Regions from separate parts of the Homo sapiens genome. Here region 1 is linked to region 2. The links are contacts of gene promoters, found by promoter capture Hi-C in blood cells and fetal thymus (Javierre and others, 2016). All regions are on one chromosome and are shown on one strand. Each heading gives the region's core, a stretch centred on a gene start or on the middle of the fragment in contact. The rest is flanking DNA. Distances are from core to core; before and after follow the strand shown.

The links. Contacts are between HindIII fragments. The CHiCAGO score rates a contact against its expected background, and 5 or more counts as called.
Region 1: a fragment that was not itself captured here is called in contact with the fragment with the promoter of LRRC31 in region 2 in 1 of 17 cell types (total B cells); the score reaches 5.3 in total B cells.

What each region holds. Positions count from the first base shown.
Region 1 is chr3:169,821,623-169,827,663 of GRCh38, forward strand. LRRIQ4 (leucine rich repeats and IQ motif containing 4) reads left to right here. Exons shown (of 6, transcript NM_001080460.3): 2 at 269-1,319. The coding sequence starts at 300. Among named protein-coding and RNA genes, the nearest start is that of LRRC34, 12 kb to the left of the region's middle. The HindIII fragment of the contact is 924 bases long and covers 4,089-5,012 here.
Region 2 is chr3:169,868,170-169,874,780 of GRCh38, forward strand. LRRC31 (leucine rich repeat containing 31) reads right to left here and starts at 1,766. Exons shown (of 9, transcript NM_024727.4): 1 at 1,464-1,766. The coding sequence starts at 1,638. The HindIII fragment of the contact is 9,706 bases long and covers 1-5,629 here.

The DNA.
Region 1 (6,041 bases), core at 3,301-5,800, 44 kb before region 2:
AAAGCGAAACTCCGTCTCAAAAATAAATAAATAAATAAATAAAACTGAAGTTAATCTCTTTTTTTTTTTCATGTGAGTCTACGTGTTAGGGGAAGGAGTCTACACTTTAATTCTTCTAACATGAAATGCAAAAACCTAAATTTTATGTTCTGTCATAATTTCAAGCACTAAGTTTAATCAACTAGGTTTTAATTTTATTTTTCTTAAGGATAGCAAGTCTGGTGGCAGGTAAATTCTATTTTTTTTCATCCTTTTCACAATATTTCAGATTTTGAATATTTGAGCTTTTCTTCACAATAATGTCAAAAGACATAAAATCAGTAGAACATTCACCTAAAATTCATCAGAGAAATGATCCACAGCACGTCAATGATAGAACATTTTTCATTGATGCCTCTAATCAGAGCTTGACTGCCATTCCTTTGGAGATCTTCACATTCACAGAATTAGAAGAAGTGCATTTGGAGAATAACCAGATTGAAGAAATTCCCCAGGAGATTCAGCGTTTAAAGAACATCAGGGTCCTCTACCTGGATAAGAACAACCTGAGGAGCCTGTGCCCGGCGCTGGGGCTGCTGAGCAGCCTGGAGAGCCTGGACCTGAGCTACAACCCCATCTTCTCCTCCTCCCTTGTCGTTGTCAGCTTCCTCCACGCCCTGCGCGAGCTCCGGCTCTACCAGACCGACCTGAAGGAAATTCCCGTCGTCATCTTTAAAAACCTCCACCATCTCGAGCTGCTCGGACTGACCGGAAACCACCTGAAATGTCTGCCCAAGGAAATAGTGAACCAGACCAAGCTGAGGGAGATCTACCTGAAGCGAAACCAGTTTGAAGTTTTCCCCCAGGAGCTCTGTGTTCTCTACACCCTGGAAATCATTGACCTGGACGAGAACAAAATAGGTGCCATCCCAGAAGAGATCGGACACCTGACGGGGCTGCAGAAGTTCTATATGGCTTCTAACAACCTTCCCGTTCTGCCCGCGTCCTTGTGCCAGTGTAGCCAACTGTCGGTGCTCGATTTATCCCACAACCTCCTCCACTCCATCCCGAAGAGCTTCGCCGAGCTCAGGAAGATGACGGAAATCGGGCTGAGCGGGAACCGCCTGGAGAAGGTGCCACGCCTCATTTGCAGGTGGACCTCGCTGCACCTGCTCTACCTGGGAAACACCGGCCTGCACAGGCTGCGGGGCTCCTTCAGGTGCCTGGTCAACTTGCGCTTCCTGGACCTAAGCCAGAACCATCTGCACCACTGCCCGCTGCAGATCTGTGCACTGAAGAACCTTGAAGTCCTGGGACTGGATGACAATAAAATAGGACAGGTACGGATTCCTTTTCTGGCTGTCACTATGCTCTCATCCAGGGTCCTTCCTGCCCTAAGTTGGTTCTGTATCTAAACAGCAAATTTGAACTGACTTTATGGGCGAAAATCCAAGATTACTAAATATCCAACAAGGTGATACTTTGTATTACTCTCTTTTTCCCTAACAGCAGCAGTAATCATAATAGTAGCTAATGTTTATTTAGAGGGTGTATGTGCCAGTCACTGAGCTAAGTGTTTACATGGATCATCTCATTTACCTCACAACGACTGTGTCCTCAATGGTATATGAAGGAAGTGAGGGGCAGGGAGCTTAACTAACATATCCAAGGTTACACAGCCTGTAAGTGCTGCAGCCGCGATTCCAGCCCACAGCTGCCAGGCTCCAGGGTCTACATTCTTTTTTTTTTTTTTTTCTCTTCCCCGAGACGGAGTCTAGCTCTATTGCACAGGCTGGAGTGCAGTGGTGTGATCTCGGCTCACTGCAACGTCCACCTCCCGGGTTCAAGCGGTTCTCCTGCCTCAGCCTTTCGAATAGCTGGGATTACAGGCACCTGCCATCATGCCCAGCTAATTTTTGTATTTTTAGTAGAGACGGGGTTTCACGGTGTTGTCCAGGCTGGTCTCGAACTCCTGACCTTGTGTTCCGCCCGCCTCGGCCTCCCAAAGTGCTGGGATTACAAGCGTGAGCCACCGCGCACGGCCCAGGGTCTATATTCTTAACAAAGACAATCTCCTGACAGAGTTTCCGTTAACAGCAGATGTTTCTAATACACAACAGCCTTAGAAGCCTAAAGTTCCATCCATAGGAAACTGCAAAACCAGACTTGTCCCAACAGAAACTGTCCCGTGTGTGCAGGGTGGCATATTCAAAAATGGTCATTTAGCATTGTTGATAATCATGAAATTATGGGAGACAATCTAAATGTCAGTAGGGGAGTGGGCAAATAAACTTCAATATATTCATAAAACGAAGTTATATAGTAATTTAAGTGAACTGGTACTGTATTGCCAATATGGATAGATCTCAGTATTGTGATGTTTATTGAAAAGAAAACCTAAGGTTCCGCATCAAACTGCAGAACCTTATGATACCATTTATAAATTTTGAAATCACACAAAACTATATATATACACACATATATGTATATACATACACACATATACACACAACACATATTTTATGGATATTTTTATATATAATGAAAATATAAAATATTGACTGGAAGAAAACTAAATTCATGAAGGTGGCTGCCTCTGGGAAGAGAGAAGGAAGTCAACAAAATAGGGAAGCAGCTGGATGCAGTGGCTCACTCCTCTAATCCCAGCAGTTTAGGGGGCCAAGGAGGGAGGATCACTAGAGGCCAGAAGTTCAAGACCATGCTGGGCAATGTAGGAATGTGTCTTTAAAAACCAAGAAAGCAAATGGGGAAGAGATCATAAGGGGACTGAACTTAATTGCAGTATTTCATTTTGTTTATTAAAAGATTTGGGCAGTTGGGCACGCGTGGGTTTATGTTTCTTTATTATTTTATAATATTCTATTTATTTCAATTTTAATTTTATTTATTTATCTATTTATTTTTGAGATGGAGTCTCACTCACTCTGTCACCCAGGCTGGAGTGCAGTGGTGCTATCTTGGCTCACTGCAACCTCTGCCTCCTGGGTTCAAGCGATTCTCCTGCCTCAGCCTCCCAAGTAGTTGGGACTACAGGTGTGCGCCATCACACCCGGCTAATTTTTGTATTTTTAATAGAGACGGGGTTTCACCATGTTGGCCAGGCTGGTCTCAAACTCCTGGCTTCAAGTGATCCACCCGTTTTGGCCTCACAAAGTGCTGGGATTACAGGTGTAAGCCACCATGGCTGGCCTATAATATTTGATTTAAAAAGAAAAAAATAGCTGTTAAGAGCAAAAGACAACTGTAGAGGGAGTAAAAAGGGGAATTTGGAAATCAACAACTATAATCAAATAATAGGTCTGCTTTACCTGGCCATGGACACCAGTCTCATGTGTTCCCTATAAATTATAAAAGTCCTGGGCCTTACGGATTTATTTTTAAAAATCTTTTTTTTTTTTTTTTTGAGATGAGCTCTCGCTCTGTTGCCCAGGCTGGAGTACAATGGCGCCATCTCAGCTCACTGCAACCTCCACCTCCCAGGTTCAAGCGATTCTCCTTCCTCAGCCTCCCGAGTAGCTGGGACTATAGGTGCCTGCCACCACGCCCGGCTAATTTATGTATTTTTAGTAGAGGCAGGGTTTCACCATATTGGCCAGGCTGGTCTCAAACTCCTGACCTCATGATCTGCCCACCTCAGCCTCCCAAAGTGCTGGGATTACAGGCGTGAGCCACTGTGCCCGGCTGCTAAAAAAATCTTTTATTTGATTTTTTATTTCTAGAACTTTTTTCCCCAAATTGCTATGGGGTTTTAAAGCTGCCTTTCAGGAAGTAAACATTTTGATGGTAACTTGTAGATTTAGGTCGAGATTCTAGGACTTAATCTCCACTGATGTAGCAACTCACCTTGGAGGATTTTTGAGGTTCCGTGAGAGCCCGGCCCTGAACTATTCCACTGCTGATGTAAGAAATTCCTTTTAGTGGACTAAGTCAGTCATTCTGCAGTTGGAGTGAAAGACTTAAAATATAAAGTACATGTGGGAGGGATAACACATTATACTGAGCCATGAATAATACCTAATCCTTTTCTGAGAGAAATTTTAAGAAATCAAAGGAGCAAATCACACACAGACTGCTTGTTAACAAAAATAAGCTTCATCCAATACCAAGTTTTAGCACAAGTCAAACTGCACTGAAATGTAGACATGTTAAATATTATTGTATTGAACATGACAATCTCTGTGTACCAGTGCTTTTTCCTCTTCAGTTATTCTGATGGGTTTTGTGTGTGTGTGTGCATTTGTCCTCCCTTCTCAATTTCCTCTTATGCTAATACCACCTTCCAATGCATTTCTCTCCTCAATGAAACATGGCCTTTAAGCCAGCTCATTATCTCTCCCTCCCCAAAGACTCAACTCATGGGTTACTAGCTCTTAAAGCCTAACCAGTAGCTTCTACTTGCCTGTGTGCATGCAAAAAATATCTGATTTTCAATGTGTACCTAGATGGATTTTATTTGTAGAGTATACTTCTATTAAAGGAGAAAAGCAGGCCACGTGCGGTGACTCACGCCTGTAATCACAACACTTTGGGAGGATGAGGCGAGTGGATCAACTGAGGTCAGGAGTTTGAGACCAGCCTGGCCAACGTGGCGAAACCCCATCTCTACTAAAAATACAAAAATTAGCCGGGCATGGTAGTGGGCACCTGTAATCCCAGCTACTCGGGAGGTTGAGGCAGGAGAATCGCTTGAACCCAGGAGGCAGAGGTTGCAATGAGCCAAGATTGTACCATTGCCGTCCAGCCGAGGCAAGAAGAGTGAAACTCCGCCTCAAAAAAAAAAAAAGAAAAAGAAAAAGGAAAAAACCAAAACAATGTACCAGATCCCAAAATGGCTATATGTCAGTTACAGTGTCATCAGTAATTGTCCTCATCTAATGCTCTACAGATTTTCTATACATCTAGATTTCTTCTCATTATACTTTACTATGACTATGATGAAACTAACTACTGGATCTTAAATACTCCTAAAAAAAATTTTTGAACATTCAATGTGCTTTGAAAAAGAAAAGCTAAGCTTTTATGAGTTAAGTGAACAGCAATAAGAATGAAATTTCTAGGTTATAATAAAATGGTTAGATTGAAAAATCTTTTTTCATTGTTTTGGACTGCACAGAATGCAGGCATTTTGTATTGAAGACATCTAAGTGCTTGATGAAGAATTTTGAAATAGCCAAAGAGGAAAGCTTAAACATCAGTTTCTCCAAAGATTGACTTCATCTAATTAAAATAAATAGGTAAATAAATAAAACTGGAAAACTGTTACAGCATTTTTAGGAAAATGAGTCCTTACTCTACACAAAAAAGAGAAAAATGCATTATGGAAGATTCCAAGTATGTGAAACTTTTACAGATAGGTTGTCCTCAGTGAACTTTCTTTTTCTCCAACTGTAAGTGACCCATTCACCAATTACCTGTCTATTCCACCCATCCATAGAGAGGTGGGGGTGGGAGTGGCTCAGCTGAGCTCTAGCCAGAATGAAAGTAGGGTGGCTGACTAGGGAATGGATGGGAAGAATGCCCATGGGCTCAAGCAGGGAACTGTGGGGAAGGATTTCCCAGTTAGGAATTAAGCCAGATAAAGGAACATATGAGTTAAGGAGCTGTTGAGCTATATAGCTGGGATTTTTTTCTACGAGAAAATAAGGCATCTCTGTAACACAGTCAATAGGGTGATTGTCACATATTTTAAGAATGAGATTTTTTCGCCGGGTGCGGTGGCTCATGCCTGTAATCTCAGCACTTTGGGAGGCCTAGGCGGGCGGACCACGAGGTCAGGAGATCGAGACCATCCTGGCTGACATGGTGAAACCCCGTCTCTACTAAAAATACAAAAAATTAGCCGGGCGTGGTGGTGGGCGCCTGTAGTCCCAGCTACTCGGGAGGCTGAGGCAGGAGAATGGCGTGAACCCGGGAAGCGGAGCTTGCAGTGAGCCGAGATCGCGCCACTGCACTCCAGCCTGGGCGGCAGAGCGAGACTCCGTCTCAAAAAAAAAAAAAAAAAAAAAAAAGAGATTTTTTTCCCATGTGGTCTCCCATGGTCC
Region 2 (6,611 bases), core at 516-3,015:
CACTACCCCTTCCTCTCCATGTCTCCCATCCTGCTTTAGCATCCCTGACTTCCTGACTCTCTCTCAAGCACTCTAGGCTCAGTCGTATCTAAAGCCTTTGCATGTACAGTCTCTTTGCCTGGAAAGCTATTTGCACAAATACCTAAGTGGCTCGCTTTATTCATTCATTCAGCAAAGCTGATTTTATTCAGATTGCTGCTCAAATGCCTCCAAATCGAAGACTTCTTTCCTCCACCCCCATCTAAATAGCACCCCATCCCATCATTCTTTGTCTCCTTAGCCTGCATTATTTTTCTTCATATCACTTATCACCACCTGAAGTTATATCTGCATTTGGTCCTTTTCATGGCTGTATTTCTAACACTTAGAGCAGGGGTTACTACATAGCAAGCACTCAATAAAGATTTATTGACTGCTGACTGACAGAACATAAATGCATGCATATGAAAAGAAAAGACTGAAAAGAATCTTAAAGAAATGATCGTTTGTGTTATAATGAAAGGAAATTCAGTATTTTCCCTACATTTTTCTGTAGTGTTATATTGCTTTTAACAATTTAAAAGTAAAATTATGAATCATTTAAAGCATGTAAGTAACATAATAAATGATTAGCACAGAGACTCATAGTTGAGTCTTTAGTCTCAAAAGTCTTAAAGTCTTTAGTTTAACCCATAAGATCACTTTAGAAGAAAACTCTAAAAAATAAAGAAACATAGAGGCTGGGAAGGGTGTGTGTGTTGTTGGTGGGGGAGGTGTGGATGGTTAATGGGTACAGAAAAAATAGAATATATAAGATCTACTGTTTGATAGCACAACAGGGTGACTATATTTATCCTTTGTTTACAAACAACCCGTTGTGCTCTTTTAGTTATTTTTAAATGTGCAATAATTTATTGCACATTTAAAAATAACTAAAAGAGGCCTGGTGTGATGGCTTACACCTGTAATCCCAGCAGTTTGGGAGGCCAAGGCAGGAAAATCACCTGAGGTCAGGAATTCGAGACCACCCTGGCCAATGCAGTGAAACCCCATCTCTACTAAAAACACAAAAATTAGCTGGGCATGGTGGTGCGCATCTGTAATCCCAGCTACTCGGGAGGCTGAGGCAGGAGAATCGCTTGAACCCGGGAGGCAGAGGTTACTATGAGCTGAGATCACGCCATTGCACTCCAGCCTGGGTGACAAGAGTGAAACTCTGTCTCAAAATAAATAAATAAATAAATAAAACTAAAGGTATAATGGGATTGTTTGTAACACAAAGGATAAATGCTTGAGGGGATGGATACCCCATTCTCCACAATATGATTATTAGGCATTGCATGCCTGTATTGAAACATCTCATATACCCCATAAATATATACACCTACTATGTACCCACAAAAATTAAAAATAAAAATATTTTAAATGTGGAAGTAAAAACAAAACAAATACAACAGCAAAAACACCAGCAGCCAGCAGCTTACCAGTCTCTGAGGTGGCTGTCTTCTGTATCCAGTCGCTGGGTTGGGAATCACTTGTTTTAAGGTCATTGTCCTCTTTTCTGCTTTCAGCATTGGAGCCCCTGAGAAATTTGTTGACAGTTGAAGTCTGGGGCTTAGTTTCTCCTTCTGAGGAAGTTTTCTTCCTTGTTTGACTCATGGTGAAGTTGATGGGGGTAGTTCCCAATAAGACATCTTCCTGTTGCTTTCTGTTTTCTAGGATTTCTAAGAAGAAAAGAAGATTCTGTCAAGCCTGTGTTCAATCAAAATATCCTCCCCTACATGACTGCCCCCCACTCCCTGCCGCACCACCTTTCTTTTTCTGTTTTTTTATTGCTGTTAATGTTTAACATGAAAATAAGAATGATGTAACCCAGGATCCAGAAGCCAATACAAACTCAAAGCAATTTGAGTTTTTAACTTTGCCCTATTTCATTGTGTGAGATACAAGTCATTAAGCATGACTTTGGCAAGCACATCAAGTGTGTCAACACATCTTAAATTACAGCTGTCAATTAGTTACCTGAAGACTTAATATGCCTTTAAAAGGGACTGGCCATTTGCAAAGCTGTCCCCAGAGGAGTTTGCCTTCAGCGACCTCTGCCTTCTGGTGACCCCCACCTCCTTCCTTTGCACATAAGCTCCTTTTTCTCTTTGCATATTCATATTTTCTCTACCCCCAACCCTGCACCACCACCCCACTGAAACATGTTGGCAGTAAAGAATTCATTCATTCCATAAATAGTTTTAAAGAATCTACTGTGGGCCAGTTAATGTTCTAAATGCAAAAGATTCAATGACGAACAAGAGACAGTTCTTGTCTTTGATGGGATCTTAACCTGGTGGGAAGATGGACCTGTATGCCATTGATTGAGTGGGACAAGAGCCAAGAGATGGGAGGTGGTCAGGGAACCCACAGTAAACTAAGCATGCCTTGGAGAACAGACTTGGAACAGTGAGTGACATTGCCTGGGTTTTGAAGGACTGCGAGTTAGCTTTTTAAGAGAGGGAAGAGTATCCCAGGCAGAAGAAAGGGTAAGCTCAAGAGCTCCCAGGCAGGAACGGCTGGAAGAGCCTAGCATTGGAGGTGGGGATGTGGGTCAGGGGGTGTGGAGGTTAGGGGTGAGGTCTGGTATGAATTGAAGCTAAAAAGGATTCGTAAAGGTCAATCTATTATCTCTCCTGAAATTTGCTTATATTTTATGGGAGGGCTAAGGACTTAAACTAAAGGGATACACAGAAGTGTTTTGTTTTGTTTTGACATAGAGATGGATTTTCACCATGTTGGCCAGGCTCGTCTTGAATTTCTGGCCTCAAGTGATCCGCCCACCTCGACCTCCCAAAGTGCTGGGCTTAAAGGTGTGAACCATCATGCCCAGCAGAAGTATTCTTGAAATTACAGTTTTCATAGTCTCCTCTCTAATAAAATAGCTCTTTCTGTAACATTATGTTCCAGAATGGTCCAAGAAACATTTTACACAGGGAATCCTAAAAATGGACCTTGCAGAGCCCACCTCCACTCGTGAGGGCTGGAATGTTCCATGCACTTGGAGCACTGCTTTGGAAGTCACAATTGGACATTCCATTTTTCTTTTAAAATCTTCCTTTCATATTAGAGCAGGGCCCAGCCCTGGTTTACCCAGCAACAGACAGCAGTGGAACTAAACAATTACTCCATGCACAGCAGCACAGCTGACTAGAGTCTCAGGGGGTTAGGTGGAAAAGAAGAAGGAAAGGGGCGCTAACTCATAAATCTAAACATGACCTGCAGCCCTGGCTGCCTCACCCTGATTCCACCATCACCCCAGGCCTTTCTCAATTTGCTACTCTTCTGGCCCCCCACCCAGGACACCTCCATGGTCATTTTCAGCCAATTTCACCATTTGGAGATTTAGACAGGGCTATTCTCTGGGGAGCTAGCTCAGTAAATGGTTTCACTTTTTTATCCTCCCCCCAAATGCACTGACTCCAACTCCCCAAGTCCTAAGAAAACAGTGCTGGAGGGTGCTCCAGGATGTGGTAATTTACCCAGGTGAAACCACACCCAGCTTCTGAGGCCCAGCCAGTTCTCTGTGAAGATCAGTACACTAAGGAACAGGGGAGCCAGGAAGCCAAGAAACACAAGAACCAAGGAACAGAAGAGGATGTGAAGGAGAGGAAAGGAACAGGAGAATAGAAAGCAACCAGGAGGCTAATAAGGCAACAAGAAAGGACCATGCCAGAGGAAGGAAGGCTTTTGAATGAAAAGGGGGAAGCATTTGCACATTTCTTCATGTATAGTAGTTAAGTGCTAGGTTACCATACTCATATTTAAAAATAATAATAATTTTTTCTTGAAAATATGTCTGGGAAATTCCTCTTTATATAAAAACTTTAATAAGCCCTCAGGCTTCCCAAACCAAGTCCATCTTTAAAATCTTAGCTTCAGTAAACCTTCCGCTTCCTCCTTATCCCTGAACTGGACTTTATAAAGGAAATCCCTGGAAAAGGAATTTGGGAAAATTTGCAGATCACAGCACAACCACCACAATACAGCAGCTAAAAACTGGGGGTTTGTCCCTTCTACCAGGGTCAAAAGCATTCACTTAAGAGCCCTTAGGAATAAGAAATGGCTGATATTTCAATTCAACTCATCAATATTAATTGAGCAGATACTTTCCATATTTACTATATTCTTAATAGTTAAGGTTTTGCCATGAAGCCTCAAGAGTAATAATACATATTTGACACGTCATTTCTCTTGCATGTAAGCTCTTTTTATTTATTACTTTTGCAAAAGTAAGGAATACCTTTCCTTTCTTGTCAATCCTTAGGTTTGGGTTTAATATAATTTAAAATTTTTGAGGAATGTCTTTAAAGGTCTTTCTTTCTTTATTCTTTTTTTTTTTTTTTTTTGGAGATGGAGTCTCACTGTTGCCCAGGCTGAAATTCAGTGCCGCAATCTTGGCTCACTGCAACCTCTGCCTCCTGGGTTCAAGTGATTCTCCTGCCTCAACCTCCCAAATAGCTGGGATTACAAGCATCCGCCACCACACGTGGCTAATTTTTGTATGTTTAGTAGAGACGGGGTTTCACCATGTTGACTAGGCTGGTCTCAAACTCCTGACCTCAGGTGGTGCGCCCACCTCGGCCTCCCATAGTGCTGAGATTACAGGCGTGAGCCACCGCACCTAGCCAGTCTTTCATTTTTTGATGTAATGTTTCAGAGTGAATCATATTTTCAATGTTGTTTGTCAAAGGGAGATGCATTTTTCTTTCTCCACAGTCTTATTTCATTAAAAAAAGAAAGGAAATTCTGTTGCCTGTTACAACATGAATGAATCTTGAGGACATTAGGCCAAGTGAAATAAGCCAGTCACAATAAGATAAATACTGTATGACACCTCTTCTATGCAGTATCTAAAGTAGCCAAATTCATGGAAACAGTAAAAATTGTGTTTGCCAGGGGCTAGGGGGAGGGGAAGTAGGGAGTCGTCTGATGGGTATAAAGTTCCAGTTTTGCAAGATGAAAAAGTTCGTCTTTGTACAACTTTGTGAATCTGTTGTACAACAATGTGAATATATTTAACACTACTGAACTGTATACTTAAAAATGGTCAAGATGGTTAATTTTGTGTTCTGTAGTTTTTACCACAATTAAAACATTTTTAAGTGTATTTTTAAAAAGTGATTCAGGCTGGGTGCAGTGTCTCACACCTGTAATTCCAGCACTTTGGGGAGGCCAAGGCAGGCAGATTTCCTGAGCTCAGGAGTTCAAGACCACCCTGGGCAACATGATGAAACCCCATCTCTACTAAAATACAAAAAATTAGCCGGGTGTGGCAGTGTGCACCTGTAGTCCCAGCTATTCGTGAGACTGAGGCACGAGAATCGCTTGAGCCCAGGAGGCAGAGGTTGCAGTGAGCCAAGATTGCACCACTGCACTCCAGCTTGGGCTACAGAGTGAGACTCCATCTCAAAAAAAAATAGAAAGTGATTCAGAGGACTGAACTCCAAATGTAAAGTTTTAAGAATACAGTAATCAATTTCTACTTTTATTTTCCTTCTTATGTATCCACAAATGTGACATGATTTTAGAAAATCCATGCCTAACTACTAAATAGATTTTTAATAAGCATAAAATAAAAATCCTAGGTAATCGGAAAAAAAAAAGCTTCAGTCACTCAGTTCTAAGGCATTGTGGTGGCACGCAGTATCTTGAGTTCTATGTCTGATGAGCTTAGTTCAGCCTTATTCAGAACTCTTGTCTTAAAGAGGCATTATTGTAGATATATTTGTAGTACTTTAGTTCACTGTACTATTTTTAGTTAATTTAAGCAGAAAAGGAATTTATTAAAAGAATGATATGGAAGTTCTACTAAAACGATGGCAGAGGTAAATATGTGTTTACCTCCACTTCTCTTGAAACCCTATTTAATCAACAGATTTTTAAAAAAATCATAAATCTGTAAGGATAAGGAGAACTGGATAGATGTTAACACAACTTTGAAAACTAGAGAGCAAGAGGATGAGTTTAACTGACTTTAAAGTTAAGTGTCTGCATGGATTGGGAGAACAAATTTTTCAAACGTCAGAATCCCGAAAGTCTCAGTAATTGACAGCACAAGGTAACTCTGAAGGAAAGAGATGTGTGGGTAGAGCTGCACACAAGATGATTCGCGAAACATTTGTAAGAGGTTAAATTGTTAAATTCTATTTCTCACTTCGGGCAGCCAGGAGGCTACCCCTTCCCCATCTTGGCAGAAGAATGTTTATTTTCACGACACGTCGAAACATAGAAGATCCAGACTCAGACACTGGTCAAGTTTTGAATACCTTATCTGAAAGGAGCTTAAGTAAAGTCTATAACTGAGCTATGAAACCCGTCCCTATTCCCTCTTCTGTTCCTCCAAGAACACCCTGACAACCAAATGTAACTACCCACTTCGCCACATAACAGAGGTGGAGTGGATGACAACTATCTGAAGAAACTGGCCAGCCTAAGAGAAAAAACCTAGATATTGACTGTTGAAAGTCCTTCAGCTAAATGAATCTGTCCCTGCCCAAGCACGTTACAAAGAAACCCACTGACTGACAGGCCCTACTTTTGTACACAGACATTCCAGTATAATGCATAATCTACATATGCGTGGA